Linked DNA regions of Homo sapiens: region 2 is linked to region 1. Evidence: promoter capture Hi-C in 16 types of primary human blood cells and fetal thymus (Javierre and others, 2016). All regions are on one chromosome and are shown on one strand. Each heading gives the region's core, a stretch centred on a gene start or on the middle of the fragment in contact. The rest is flanking DNA. Distances are from core to core; before and after follow the strand shown. Region 1 holds the start of DCAF16 (DDB1 and CUL4 associated factor 16). Region 2 overlaps BOD1L1 (biorientation of chromosomes in cell division 1 like 1).

What was found. Contacts are between HindIII fragments. The CHiCAGO score rates a contact against its expected background, and 5 or more counts as called.
Region 2: a contact is called between a fragment that was not itself captured here and the fragment with the promoter of DCAF16 in region 1, in 1 of 17 cell types (non-activated CD4 T cells). The highest score is 9.4, in non-activated CD4 T cells.

Annotation. Positions count from the first base shown.
Region 1 is chr4:17,807,665-17,814,338 of GRCh38, forward strand. It overlaps DCAF16 (DDB1 and CUL4 associated factor 16), which reads right to left and starts at 3,093. Exons shown (of 3, transcript NM_017741.4): 1 at 2,783-3,093. NCAPG (non-SMC condensin I complex subunit G) reads left to right here and starts at 3,315. Exons shown (of 21, transcript NM_022346.5): 1 at 3,315-3,524; 2 at 4,557-4,760; 3 at 5,253-5,481. The coding sequence starts at 3,414. RefSeq lists enhancers at 862-1,011, 2,631-2,720, 2,762-3,273, 2,841-3,000, 3,274-3,786. The HindIII fragment of the contact is 3,530 bases long and covers 822-4,351 here.
Region 2 is chr4:13,620,073-13,626,746 of GRCh38, forward strand. All of the region lies in intron 1 of BOD1L1 (biorientation of chromosomes in cell division 1 like 1), which reads right to left. Among named protein-coding and RNA genes, the nearest start is that of BOD1L1, 4.3 kb to the right of the region's middle. The HindIII fragment of the contact is 2,486 bases long and covers 3,417-5,902 here.

The DNA.
Region 1 (6,674 bases), core at 1,843-4,342:
GTTCCTATCGCTGGAGAAGCGGACTGGTAAAATGTGGAAACACATTCCAAGTATATACAGCAACATGGGTGGCCTTTAAAGGCATAGCTTTAAATGAGAAAAGAGACAATATCAATGTCTCGTTTATGCTACTCTGTAGGGGGGATTTCCAAAATCAAAGTCAGTGAACATTTTCATTATCGAATACACTGAGTTGTGCTAATAAGGTCATATGGTATGGCTTCAGGTCAGCAATTTTCCTCTAATGAGTATTTCTCTGGCTTTCACACACTCCTAGCACAGTGTCTGGCATATATGAGTGGCTCAGTAAATAAAAGAGTCAGAGAATGGCAAAGGCCTGCAGTAAGTAACTACCACAAGCATGTTCTATTTTACTCCAGGGAGAGAACAGTTCCAAGTTATATCTTGGTGATTTGGTAATGTTAGACAAAGACAAATGAGATAATTTTTTTAAGGCAGGATCAACATATATGATGCTACTACAGCAATATAAAGGAAACTGCTTATAACTTTAAGAAGAAACAATGTAATACTTCTAAGTTTAGATTATAGTACTATTACCTTGTTCAATCTGAAAAAGAGTATTCATTCTTTGTCGTGGACCGTAAGTCTTTATTAACTGAGACAGGAGAAGCTGTTGGCTTTTAATTGTGCTGTCCTCTAATATTTTTACTATTTTCACTTCAACCAGATTGCACCTGTGAGATTACTAATTGGCTATACTTCAGTTATTATGTTACTCAGAAAATTTTTAAAAAGGCTCTTACTTTCCCATAATTGTTTTTGTTCTGTTTCACAGTACAAAAGTCAGGAAAAATGTAAGCTTTAAGGCAGTATACTATGTTGTTTAAATTTAATCTAGCACCTTTGAAAAAATATTTTCAGATTATAATATCAAAAAATACTGAACCAATACCCCCATGGCTTTAACCATTAAAACAAAACAAAACAAAAAAAAAAACTAACCGAAATATAGTTAGGCTGACCTCTGGCGGCCAGATGTCTCATTCTTCTGTAACTGACAAAATGGTGTGATGTCTCTGTTGGTGAGACAGCCAAATAGAATATAGTAAAGAAATACTAGCCGGGCGCGGTGGCTCACGCCTGTAATCCCAACAGTTTGGGAGGCAAAGGCGGGTGGATCACCTGAGGTCAGGAGTTCGAGACCAGCCTGGCCAACATGGCGAAACCCCGTCTCTATTAAGAATACAAAAGATTAGCCAGGTGTGGTGGTGCATGCCTGTAACCCAGCTACTTGGGAGACTGAGGCGGGAGAATCGCTTCAACCCGGGAGGCAGAGGTTGCAGTGAGCCGAGATCGCGCCATTGCACTCCAGCCTGGGCGACAGAGCAAGACTCTGTCTCAAAATAAAAATAAAAAAATATATATTAGAAACGTCACAAAGCAAAATTATGGGCAACACAAATGTTACCACATTCTTAACTAGCAGCTGAATATCTACAAAGTTTGAGGAATTAAGCAGGAGAATGGATAAGGTATGGCATATTAATACAATGGAGTACTATAGCAACCTGTCTGTGCCGTAGTTTCCTCATCTTAAAAGAAGATCAAAGTTATCCTACAGGGTTTGTGAGCAGTAAACGAAGTAAAGTGCTTAGCATGGTGTCTGGCACATAATAAAGGTTAATTAAGTGCAAGTTACTATTATGAACATATCAATATGAACCACAGCAATATTGATTGAAAAAAGCCAGATGCACATATAATTATTCATTTAACGGTTAAAACATGCAAAATAGTACAATATCCTCATTCAGGGATTTATTCATGTCATTAATATATTAAAATATGTCATTAAGATATAGAAAGCTGCATGGTAAAAGTTAACAGTAAATTCAGAAAATCCATTACTTCTTCGGAGGGCAGGTAATTCAAAAGGAGAAAGATGTACAGGTGGCTTTAGTAATGTTCTATTTCTTCAGCTGGCAGTAGGTTACTGAGGTGTAGGAGAGGGAAAAACGGCTTCCCTCCATCCTCCTAGGTTCTTTGGCTGGGTTACAAATTAACCTGACATAGACATTAACAAGAAAAAAAACCCGTACTTAATTACATACGCAGAGGAGTCCCACCATGGTCAGATGATTGAATATTATACAGCATCCTACGCTACTCAAGAAATGGGGGCTTGCGGCTTTCTGGGGGATGGTGGCCACAAAGTTGTGGAAAGGTGAGGGGAGGAAATATACGGTGAATAAAAGTTGTCTTGGTATGCAGATAAGATCTCCCAGGTAACAAAAATTATCGCAGAGCTGCCCTCTTTCTGATACAGATCCTTTACTGATGTATATTTCCTCTGTAGATGTCAATTTCTTTTACAACAGGACAGATTTTCAGAGCGACTCCTGTGTCTGCATTTTATCAGAATACCAGCTCAAAATATACTCTAGAAGTATATTGTAGGGTGGCATATTTTGGTCTCCTACAGTCCTATTTTTGGATGGTGCATCCTGAGATCCAACAGAAGTTCTGTCTGATATAATTTCATTTAAAATTTAAAAACCTAGTTCCTACTCTTCTTTATTTTAACCACTACCCGAAAGACCTTTCCATTCTCTTGAGTTCTCCCTTAATACACTGTCCTTATGCACACTTGTAAACAGGGCCTACACAGCTGCACATCTAGAAACGGCAGCAGCTAAGTTAGCCCGCACCCCCCTTCGCAACGATCCCCGGACTGCCTGCACGCCCTGTGGAACCTCGCAGTCGGCTTCACCAGGGCAGGGACTAAGGCCTTCAAAAGACAGCATCCGTCTCCACTAACCTCGGGTCGCCCCGCTCAGCGGACCCAGCAGCGTCGTCTCCCTTCTCAGAGGTGGCCGGGCCTCCGGAACGCGCTACGAACTTTCCTTTGTCGCCGTCTCTCGAAGCGGAGCCCTCGTGTGGGGATCCCCCGCCCTTCGGCCACAAGGGAGGTTGTTATCCTCGGCAGATCTCCCGTTCTCACTCTTGGAGGATCGCTTTTTCTTTCTAGCCTCACGCTCAGCCGCACGACCCAGCCAGGCCTAACGCCAGCAGCCCTTCCCCTCCGGTGGCAAGGCCACTCCGCTCAGCTCCCGCGCCGACGCTACTTCCGGCCGAGTCAAGGCCCCTCCCCCTTAGAAACGCCACTTCCCTCCGTGAAAACGGCTGGACAAGGTTGAACCTAGACGCATGCGCCCAAAGCGCGGGGTGCGAGGTGGGTGGACCCATCGCTTCCCGCTCTCTTCTCCCAAAGCGCTTACGGCAGTCTCGCGGGATTTCCCCCTCTCGCGGGAATTATTTGAACGTTCGAGCGGTAAATACTCCCTGGGGCTGTCATAGAAGACTACTCGGAGAGCGCTGCCTCTGGGTTGGCGGGCTGGCAGGCTGTAGCCGAGCGCGGGCAGGACTCGTCCCGGCAGGGTTCCAGAGCCATGGGAGCGGAAAGGAGGCTGCTGTCGATTAAGGAGGCCTTTCGGCTGGCGCAGCAGCCGCACCAGAACCAGGCGAAGCTGGTGGTGGCGCTGAGCCGCACCTACCGCACGGTAAGCGCTCCCGGCCCCGGCCGCCGCCTCTCGCCCGCCCCGGCCCACCCTCCCTCAGGGGCCCTCCGTGGCCCTCGGGCTCGGCGCACCGTGACTCCAGCCTTGTTCACCTTCGCGACTCACTTCATAGGGATCTGAGGTTCGGAGAAGTCAGGGACTTACCCGAGGTCGCCTGGGCCCAGGCCAGAAAGCCTCCGAAGCCTGGGCGTCGTTCACACGGGCCCCGCCTTGGCTTTTCTGAGCCGACACCCCCAGCTTCTGGGCGGCGTGGACCGTTATTCCTTAGTCCGATCGTGAACGTGGAGAGAAACATTTACGACCACCGAGGCGATCAGACATCAAATATTGAACCGCAGAGTGGATCCTGAATGCGGGGGTTCAGTGGTCGTTGCCCCTGGGGTCATCGCTCCCCGCCGAACATCAAATGATTCTACCCTTGTCCTACGGTTACGTTGAATCCAATCACCAAATACCAAATTATTTTTAGGGCCTGGCCATTCTTATTTATGTACATACTATTTGTTTGTTTTGAGTGGAACCTTGAGAAGAATAGAACAATTAATTTGGGGAAGATGAATTATCTTGAGGTCCAAGAAAAATTGTGAGTAAACATCACAGGGCTTTGAGGATATGAGATAGGATGTGCAAGTTATCTCATAAAGAAACTGCTGGTGATAGGAAGGCCTGAATATGAGAAATATAAAAGCCAGTATTGATTTTGGGTTGTTGAAGAAGCGTATTTGTAACGTACTGGTACTAAAGGCTTATTGAGAATCAAAGATATTGAAAAAAATATATCAAAGGAATCTTTTCACTGTCAAAAGTCAAGCTTGTGTACTCCCATTATAGCCTGGAGAGAAATTCATGCAAATTGATTGCCCTTTGGCTGGTTTGGATAATTAAGAGTTTACTAAATAAATATTTTAATTTGTCTGCATTATTATGGCTAGTGCTTTCATCAGTCTTAGGGTGATGTTGGGAATAAAGGATTTTTATCGGTGCAGTTTATGAAGGGTTTCTTTTGTCTTTCAGATGGATGATAAGACAGTTTTTCATGAGGAGTTCATTCATTACCTTAAATATGTTATGGTGGTCTATAAACGTGAACCAGCTGTGGAGAGGGTAATAGAATTTGCAGCAAAGTTTGTTACCTCATTTCACCAATCAGATATGGAAGATGATGAGGAAGAGGAAGATGGTGGCCTTTTAAATTATTTGTTTACTTTTCTCTTAAAGGTACTATGAAAATGATAGCTTTGGGGAGGGATTTTAGAAAATTTTGCCACTTTAAAAGAGTCGTGGGAGTTTGTATGTTTTTGACAATGAAATATCTAGTGATTGAAAAAACCTGAATGAGTCTACCTTTCATAGGAAATATTAGAATTATCATTATGATTAAAAAGTGGACTTTAACTCCAGCATTAAATTTTTAATGACCTCTTTAAACCAGTTCTCCTTTGTTTATTTTAAATGAGTTCTGTATTTTAGAAGCCTCTACAAAGAGGACTATGTAACTTAGCAAAGACTTCTTTCAGACTGTTCATTTTGAGACTGTATAAAATATATATATTTGCTATACATATGGACCAAGGTAGCATTATAGGTTCTCTTCAGGAAATGAATTGTTGTTGTAACTTCTTGCATTCCGAATGTATAGAGTTCAGATAATATTGATTATTTGGGAGTGGTATGTGACTATGAATAAATTTTGATTTGTTTCTGTTTTAGTCTCATGAAGCAAACAGCAATGCAGTGAGATTTAGAGTGTGCCTGCTCATAAACAAGCTTTTGGGAAGTATGCCAGAAAATGCTCAGATTGATGATGATGTGTTTGATAAAATTAATAAAGCCATGCTTATTAGATTGAAAGATAAGATTCCAAATGTGAGAATACAGGCAGTTCTGGCGCTTTCACGACTTCAGGATCCCAAGGATGATGAATGCCCAGTGGTTAATGGTGTGTGTAGTTTCCTAAATCTTTTTTCAGATTTGTTGATTTTGTTAAATTCTCAGTATTTGAAATTTTTTATTATGGTCTATACATTTGAAGAGTATAGGTAATTAATATATGATTCCGATTAAACAAAAAAAACCTAAGTAGCAACCACCCAGCTTAAAAAAAAAAGTCAGTACTTGCATCCTATCCCAGTTGCATCCCTGTCCCTCAGAAGTAACTATTAAATCCTCAGTTTGGGGTTAATTAGTCTCTTGCTTAAATTAAAAAAAATTTTTTTGCATAAATCACATATGTCTATCTTAATGTTTTCCTGTCATTTTGTGTAAATCATGCTGTATGTATATATTTAGCAGCCAATTATATTTCTATATAATACCTGTTACTGTGTTTTGCCCATTTTTTCATTGGGTTTTTAATTTAAAATACTATTTTAAAAAATTCATTTGCATTCTTTATATATTTTGAAAAGAAATCCTTGGGTTATATGAATTGTAGATCTCTTCCTGTTTTAGGTGGCTCATTGGGGTATCATTGTTTCACTCCCTTTGGGGTATCTTTTTTTTGAACAGAAATTCTTATGTCAAAAATATAAATCTCTGCCATTATGATTCGTATTTTTTAATCTCTTTTTTAAGGAACTTTTTCTTACCTATGGGGTCATAAAGGTAGTTGTATTTCATTTTTCCATATATGCCTAGGTATGTTTTAGGCACTCTTCTGTCCTTTTTGTCCCTATTACCAGTTTTATAATCACTGGTATATTTATCACTATAGTAGTTGGTATTTTTTTTGGTGTTAAAAGATACCCATAATAATATTGTGTAAAACATAGGTATTTGATAGTCAACCTGTACTTAATAATTGAGGTAGGAAAGATGTGAGAAGTACAGATAAATATATTTAAATATAAGAAATGGGTTTGTTTCAATGAATAAAACCAAAAAATATTTCCTTTTAGGTCTCATTAAAAACCAAAATAATGGGCCCTTATAAAGCCATATCAGTTTAAAATAAACTGTCTGCTATAGTAAGCTTTCTCTTAAATATTGAGGAGTAGCACAGACATAATCTTAATGATGAATTTTCTGTGACTTTTAGGGCTATTTGTTTTCACTTTTGGCCTAAGAGCCAGTCCGTTGACTAATTCCCCCTTGTGTCTTTAGAAGGGAAGTTGGTGGCCTGCGCAGCAGTGA
Region 2 (6,674 bases), core at 3,410-5,909, 4.2 Mb before region 1:
GAGAAAAAAACGAAGGTAAGTCTTCAAGGTTATACAGTATCAATATTCACCTCTCAGAAAAGTATTTTTACCATGGGACAACAAAGTTTCACAGTTTCTGACAATTCTGCTTCAAGATAACTTACACTCATTCAAATACTACTTATTTTGTGTAAGACAAGGTGTTTGGAGATATGAGGAATATAAAGAAGAAAGATACACCTCTTATTTATAGACAAAGGACTGGAAAATAAGACACGAACAAGTGTTATTATTAGATGATTTGGAGTAAAAAAGGGAGAAGAGCTGAGGAAGCATGCCTTCACTGAAAATGTGCCATTTGAGCTGGAAAAATCAATTGCACAAGGAAGCTGGGAATGAGAATGGCTGGCTTTGCTCATACAGTCAATGTAAACAAAGAGCAAGTGGATGAGCAAACTGGAGGCCAGGAGCATTTAGTGAGCCTCCAAATTGGTGGTCCAATTTGGCTATAGAAGAGAATACAAAAAGCAGAGAAATGAGGTTAAGACAGAGAGGTTGGGGCCAGGTGCTAAAAAGCTTTGGTTACTTGTACAAGTTTGGAATTACAGGGTAGAGAATGGGAGCCCACTGCACATATGGGCAGAGTGATAGAACAGCTAAGCTTTCTGATGGTTAATCATCCTACAGTGCAAGAGTAAAGAGACACAAAATACTTTAGGAAAGCATGCAATAAACTACAGTGAGGAAGGTCTTTACTGGGGTGGCAGAAACCAGCTAATGGCATAGACCCAAGAGAAATTATTGAGGGACAACTACTTGAACTAGGCATTAAATCTGAGGTAAGGCAATGGTTCTCTACCAAGAAGGATTTCACTCTCATCCCCCAAGGGACGCTTGGCAATGTCTGGAGACATTTTAGGTTGTTACAACTGATGAGAGTGCTATTGGCATCTAGTGGGTCAAGGGCAAGGATGCTACTGAAGATCCTACAATGCATAGGACAATCCCCCGACAGCAAAGAACTATCCAGCCCCAAATGTCGACAGTGCTGAGTCTGAGAACCCTTGATGTGCTCCCTGAGGGGAACATGGAGGGGAACACATATTACATCATCTCTACCTGAAGGGGCATTGCCTGGAAGGAATATGTGACCAAGCACTCAGCACTGCACTCCATTTCTAGAGGCTGTCTCCCAACACTGATGTTCTTTCTACCTTTCTTCTATACAGCTTTTAATGTGGATGAGTTTGAGTGTCCCTGACTGATATTAAGCAAGCACTGTATAGCCTCACCTTCTGCCATTTGCCTCCTTTTAGCTTCAAAGTTTACACTCCAGTGAGAAATTCTCATATCTGCACCTACCATCCTGCAACTACCATTCCCTCTGGTTGTCCATCTGACAAACTTCTCACCTTCAGAGCTCACCCTAATCTGTGAAATCATCTTGACACCGAAGGTAGGCTTATGGGCTCTTCATCCACGCTCCTACTGTTTTCTATACATGCTACCATTCGAGCAATTCTTGCACTACATTGTATTTTCGGAAGCAAGGCATATTTATCCTCCATTGATGTGTAAGCCTCCTCCTCTATCTCTCTTACAATTTGTTTTCATATAGCCTATCACACTGCTTGGCAAATGAGCAATTAAAATATACTTGTTAGCTGAATGGGTAACTATCTCTAACACAGAATGACAAACATTTTATCCCTCTGATGCCCTTTCATCAGTTCCAATTTTCAGGCCTTTGCTGATACTTATTTCCTGTCCTACATGATCATTTCCTATGTGCCTGTCCATTTATCCAAAATCGATATGAACTAAAATTAATTCTTTTTTTTTTTTTTTTTTGGCAGAGTCTTGCTCGATTGCCCATGCTAGAGTACAGTGGTGTGATCTCGGCTCACTGGAACCTCCACCTGCCGGGTTCCAGTGATTCTAGTGCCTCAGGCTCCTGAGTAGCTGGGACTACAGGCATGCGCCACCACACCTGGCTAATTTTTGTATTTTTAGTGGAGACAAGGTCTTGCTATATTGGCCATGTTGGTCTTGAACTCCTAACCTCAAGTGATCCACCTTTCTCGGCCTCCCAAAGTGCTGGGATTACAGGTGTCAGCCACCATACCCAGCCCTAAAACTAATTCTTAATTCTTTCTCCCCAATGATTCTAAAGCCTAATTCTTCTTTCCGGTATTCCCAAATCTAACACACATTCATTAGGCTCTAACATCACAATGCATTTGGCATTCTAGTCTAGTCTTCCCAGAACAAGTTCAAATCTGAACTACTCAACAGGTAATTTTCCTTGTTTTCAAGCTCTCCTTTCAGTAAAAAGTTGAGCAACTAGAGAAATATTAAGTATTCATTGAGAAGTATTCTCCTAGGAACATGTATGTACCCACATGTACACATATATACACACACACATATATTACACATACTTCCACCCTTTCTTCCTTTTCCAGTGCTTTGGTGAAAAGCCTTAGAGTTATCCTTGAGTCCTCCCTTTGTCTTCTACTTCACATGCATACTATTAGCAAATTCTCTCAACAGTAGCATGAAAATACACCCAGAATCTGACCACTTCCCACTACCTTTACTGACCTCAATCTGTTCCAAGGCATTCTCATCTGTCTGAATTATAACAACTGGCCTCATGCAGAATTCTATCCTTACCTACAACAAAGTTGTCTTCTAAAAATCAGGTAACCATGTAATTTATTGACCCATTCAAATCACAACTTAGCAAGAAAGGGGAAGCTATTACACGTGGTCAACCCATCTGAAATGGAAGTCAGATCATGTCCTTCTTTTGCTCAAAACCTGCCAATGGCTTCTGAGCTCGAGTAAAAGCCAAGGTCTTCTGATGGCTCCCAAGACCTGCCAGATCTGTGAAGGCATACCTACCTCACCTCTTGTCACTTTCCCCTTAGTGGGTCTGTCTCAGCTCTTCTATACTTGCTATGCTCTCTTCTTGGAATGCTCAAGCCCCAGACAGCTGCATTGCCCCTTCAATTCCTTCACAGATGGCTCAAGTATCATCACATTGAAACCTACCCTGAACAGCTTATTCGAAATAAAACAGTAAGCCCATCCATCCCTCATCTTGCTTTTTTCCATAGGACCTACCATACATTACTTGTTGTCTATTTTTTTTTTCTACTAGGATGTAAGCTCCATAACAGTGGGATGTTTGGTTCACTGCTGTATCCCTGGCACCTAAAAAAATGACTGGTACATAAGAGTTGCTCAATGAATGTTTGTTGGGTGAATAAATTGACCAGGGGCCATTTATAACTAAGAAAGTGTCCAAAAAATCAGACTTTCTTACTTGACAAGAGAGGTACCATATTTACCTGGCTGGCGAGCTCCCTGAAGGGCCTCTTGATCATCCCTCCTCACACGCTCCAGATGCTAATCAGTGCAAAGGAGACAGAATGGCTTTGTAACCACTAAGCTTGCTCCAGAGATCTGGAAACTGGTAGTCTATAACGGAGGAGTCTTTGCAGTAGTTGGAGCTTAGGGTTGCCCATGGTTCCATTTCTTTGGGTGGGAAGGGCTGATTTGGTCTGTTACAGTCAGATCTCTCTCCTGGTTAAGGACTATCAATGACCCTGGACAGTTTGGAGGGGGGTTCTATGGTCTTCTGGTGTAGCAGCAGACTTTGGTACTTCTCATCCTGGTTTAAACACACTAAACTGGATGACAGTTTTGCTCTTAGCACCTGGCAGGTATCAAATGTCTTCATTCTTAAATATGCATGTGACAGACATAATCCACTATAACTCTATATGCTACAAGTTAAGACTTTTTGACAGAAAGCAGGTCAGTCTTTGAGGTTCAAGTGGCAGATGAAACTCAAGGATTCCATTAAAGTGATGGTTCTTTGCATGAACAGGGAATCTTCTACTTTGGCCCACTCATCATATTGATATGAATGTTATGTTCTGATGAAGAAAACTTTGGCTTTTTGGGAAGCAGGGGGGAATATATTTTTTTTTTTTTCAAATAAGAAAATGAAGTATAAAATGGTATTCAATGAGAACAAATCTTTTAAATCAAATTAAAATCTACCTAATTGCTAACTAAGGGAGTAGAAGAGAAGGAGAGAGTCATGGGGTAAAGGAAGTACCAGAACATAACCTGTAACATAACCAGGAGCAGGTACAGAGGTTAGTGGCAGGGAGGGGGAGAGAGAGAGAGATTTTGTGGGAGAGTTTAAGCTAGCGTCTGAGCACCAGAACTTCAACCATAGCTGAGTGTTCTTTTTTGTCTGGGAGGGTGTCATTTCAGTTCTAATTTCTCAAAGCAACAGAAATATTAGAAATTTTCATAATTATTAAATAGTATATGCAACTGTATTGAAAAATGTGTATTGTTGCTTTTTAAAAATTTTTGTTTTTTAGACCAAGTCTTGTTCTGTCTCCCAGGCTGGAGTGCACTGGCACAATCTCGGCTAACTGCAACCTCTGTCTCCTGGCTTCAAGCAATTCTCCTGCCTCAGCCTCCCGAGTAGCTGGGACTACAGGCATGTGCCACCATACATGGCTACTTTTTTTGTATTTTTACTAGAGATGGGGTTTCACCATTTTGGTCAGGTTGGCCTCGAACTCCTGACCTCTAATGATCCACCCACCTCGGCCTCCCAGAAGACCAGGGTTCTGTGGTCTTCTGGTGTAGCAGCAGACTTTGGTACTTCTCATCCTGGTTTAAACACACTAAACTGGATGACAGTTTTGCTCTTAGCACCTGGCAGGTATCAAATGTCTTCATTCTTAAATATGCACGTGACAGACATAATCCACTATAACTCTATATGCTACAAGTTAAGACTTTTTGACAGAAAGCAGGTCAGTCTTTGAGGTTCAAGTGGCAGATGAAACTCAAGGATTCCATTAAAGTGATGGTTCTTTGCATGAACAGGGAATCTTCTACTTTGGCCCACGGTGGCCAGGCATGAGCCACCGGGCCTGGCCATACTGTTGCTTTTTAAAGTTCCTGCATCTGTGGCTGAATATGTCTTATTACTAGAAGAAGGGTTGATCATCAATTCTATTCCTATTTCTAATTTTTATAGTCATGCGCCCTGAGAAACCTTGTTCATATAAACAAGTACTGTGCCTCGGAATGGAAGAGTTTTGTTGTAACAATATCATTCAATTCTTGACCTCAAAAAAGAGGCTAAGAACATTAAAATAGGTTCTTATTCCATGGTTCCTGAACTCACTGAAACTGTATATGTTATTAGATTGATTCTCATGAAATTGCCTATAGTTGACCATTCTGAAGTAGAAAAACAGCGTTTTAATGTGTTACTTGCGCATTTTTCTTGAGAGAAGGTCCTAACTTTCATTAGATGATCAGAGATACTGTGCTTCCCTCCTTCCCTCCAAAAAAGGTTTTAATCCTTTACTTTGAAGGGTCTGGCAGGGATATTATAGACACATACCAATAACATTTTGTGGGAATAGGATAATAAAAAAGTTGAGCCTCAGACATTGCAGCAGTACATTACAATTTTTAATTTGTATACATAATGATTCATGGGTTTCTGAGAACACACAGATTCATGGGTTTCTGAGAACAGCAAAGTAAAAATTCCACTTGTTGAATACGAATAACTAACTTTATTTGATAACATTTACCTGGCCATGTCTAACCTTTTCCCATTAAATAACAACAAAAATAATAAAGGCAATAGAAATTATTTCTAAAAGGTAGCAGTGCATATTCCTGAAGACAAAAGTAAAAAAAACTATACTTCCTAAATAGATGAACACTCCCAAGTGAATTGAATTCTCTGTGGTGCAAAACCTCCAATATCCCGAAAAACCACGTTTTACATAGTGGGCCCAGTATGAGTCCTTATAAAGGAAGATGTACCAGGATATTCAAGAGTTTCCCCAGAAGACATAGTGGAACTGTGTGCAGTTCACCTGAAAGCTTTAGAAGAAACTGTGGATGTTGTAAACATGCATTTCTCAAAGATACAAAGCTCCTCAGAACAACTAAACATACTATGAGAAAACCCTCGACCGGGCGCGGTGGCTCATGCCTACTGGGCGAATCACGAGGTCAGGAGATCGAGACCATCCTGGCCAACACGGTGAAACCTTGTGTCTACTAAAAATACAAAAATTAGCAGGGCGTGGTGGCACGCGCTTGTAATCCCAGCTACTTGGGAGGCTGAGACAGGAGAGTCGCTTGAACCCGGGAGGCGGAGGTTGCAGTGAGCCGAGATCACGCCATTGCATTCCAGCCTGGCGACAGGGCGAGACTCTGTCTCAAAAAAAAAAAAAAAAAAAAAAAAGGAAACCCTCATTTCATCAAAACTCCAATCCAATGGACCCAACCAGATTTAACAAGCAGACAAAAACAACCCCTACAAACCAGTTAATTTTCCAACATGCTTTCTGCTTCCAGAATTCTAGACTGTACTGTGGTTTTCCATCCATCTCACTGACTGCTCTTTCCTGGTGTCTTTGGCTAATTCTTTGCCAATCCAGCTAAGTTTACTTGTTCCTGCTAATGTCCCTTTCACTCTGACATTTGGTACAAAATCCCTTCCCCTTTCCAGCCTCTCTTTCTGGACAGGGAACCTTGTTGCTGTCCTTTCCCTTCTCTACATTACTCTCCTGAATCTGCTCTCTTTCCTGTCCTTTCTCCACTTCAGTATCTGCTGTCACCTCTCCTGCATCTTTTCTCCACTGAAT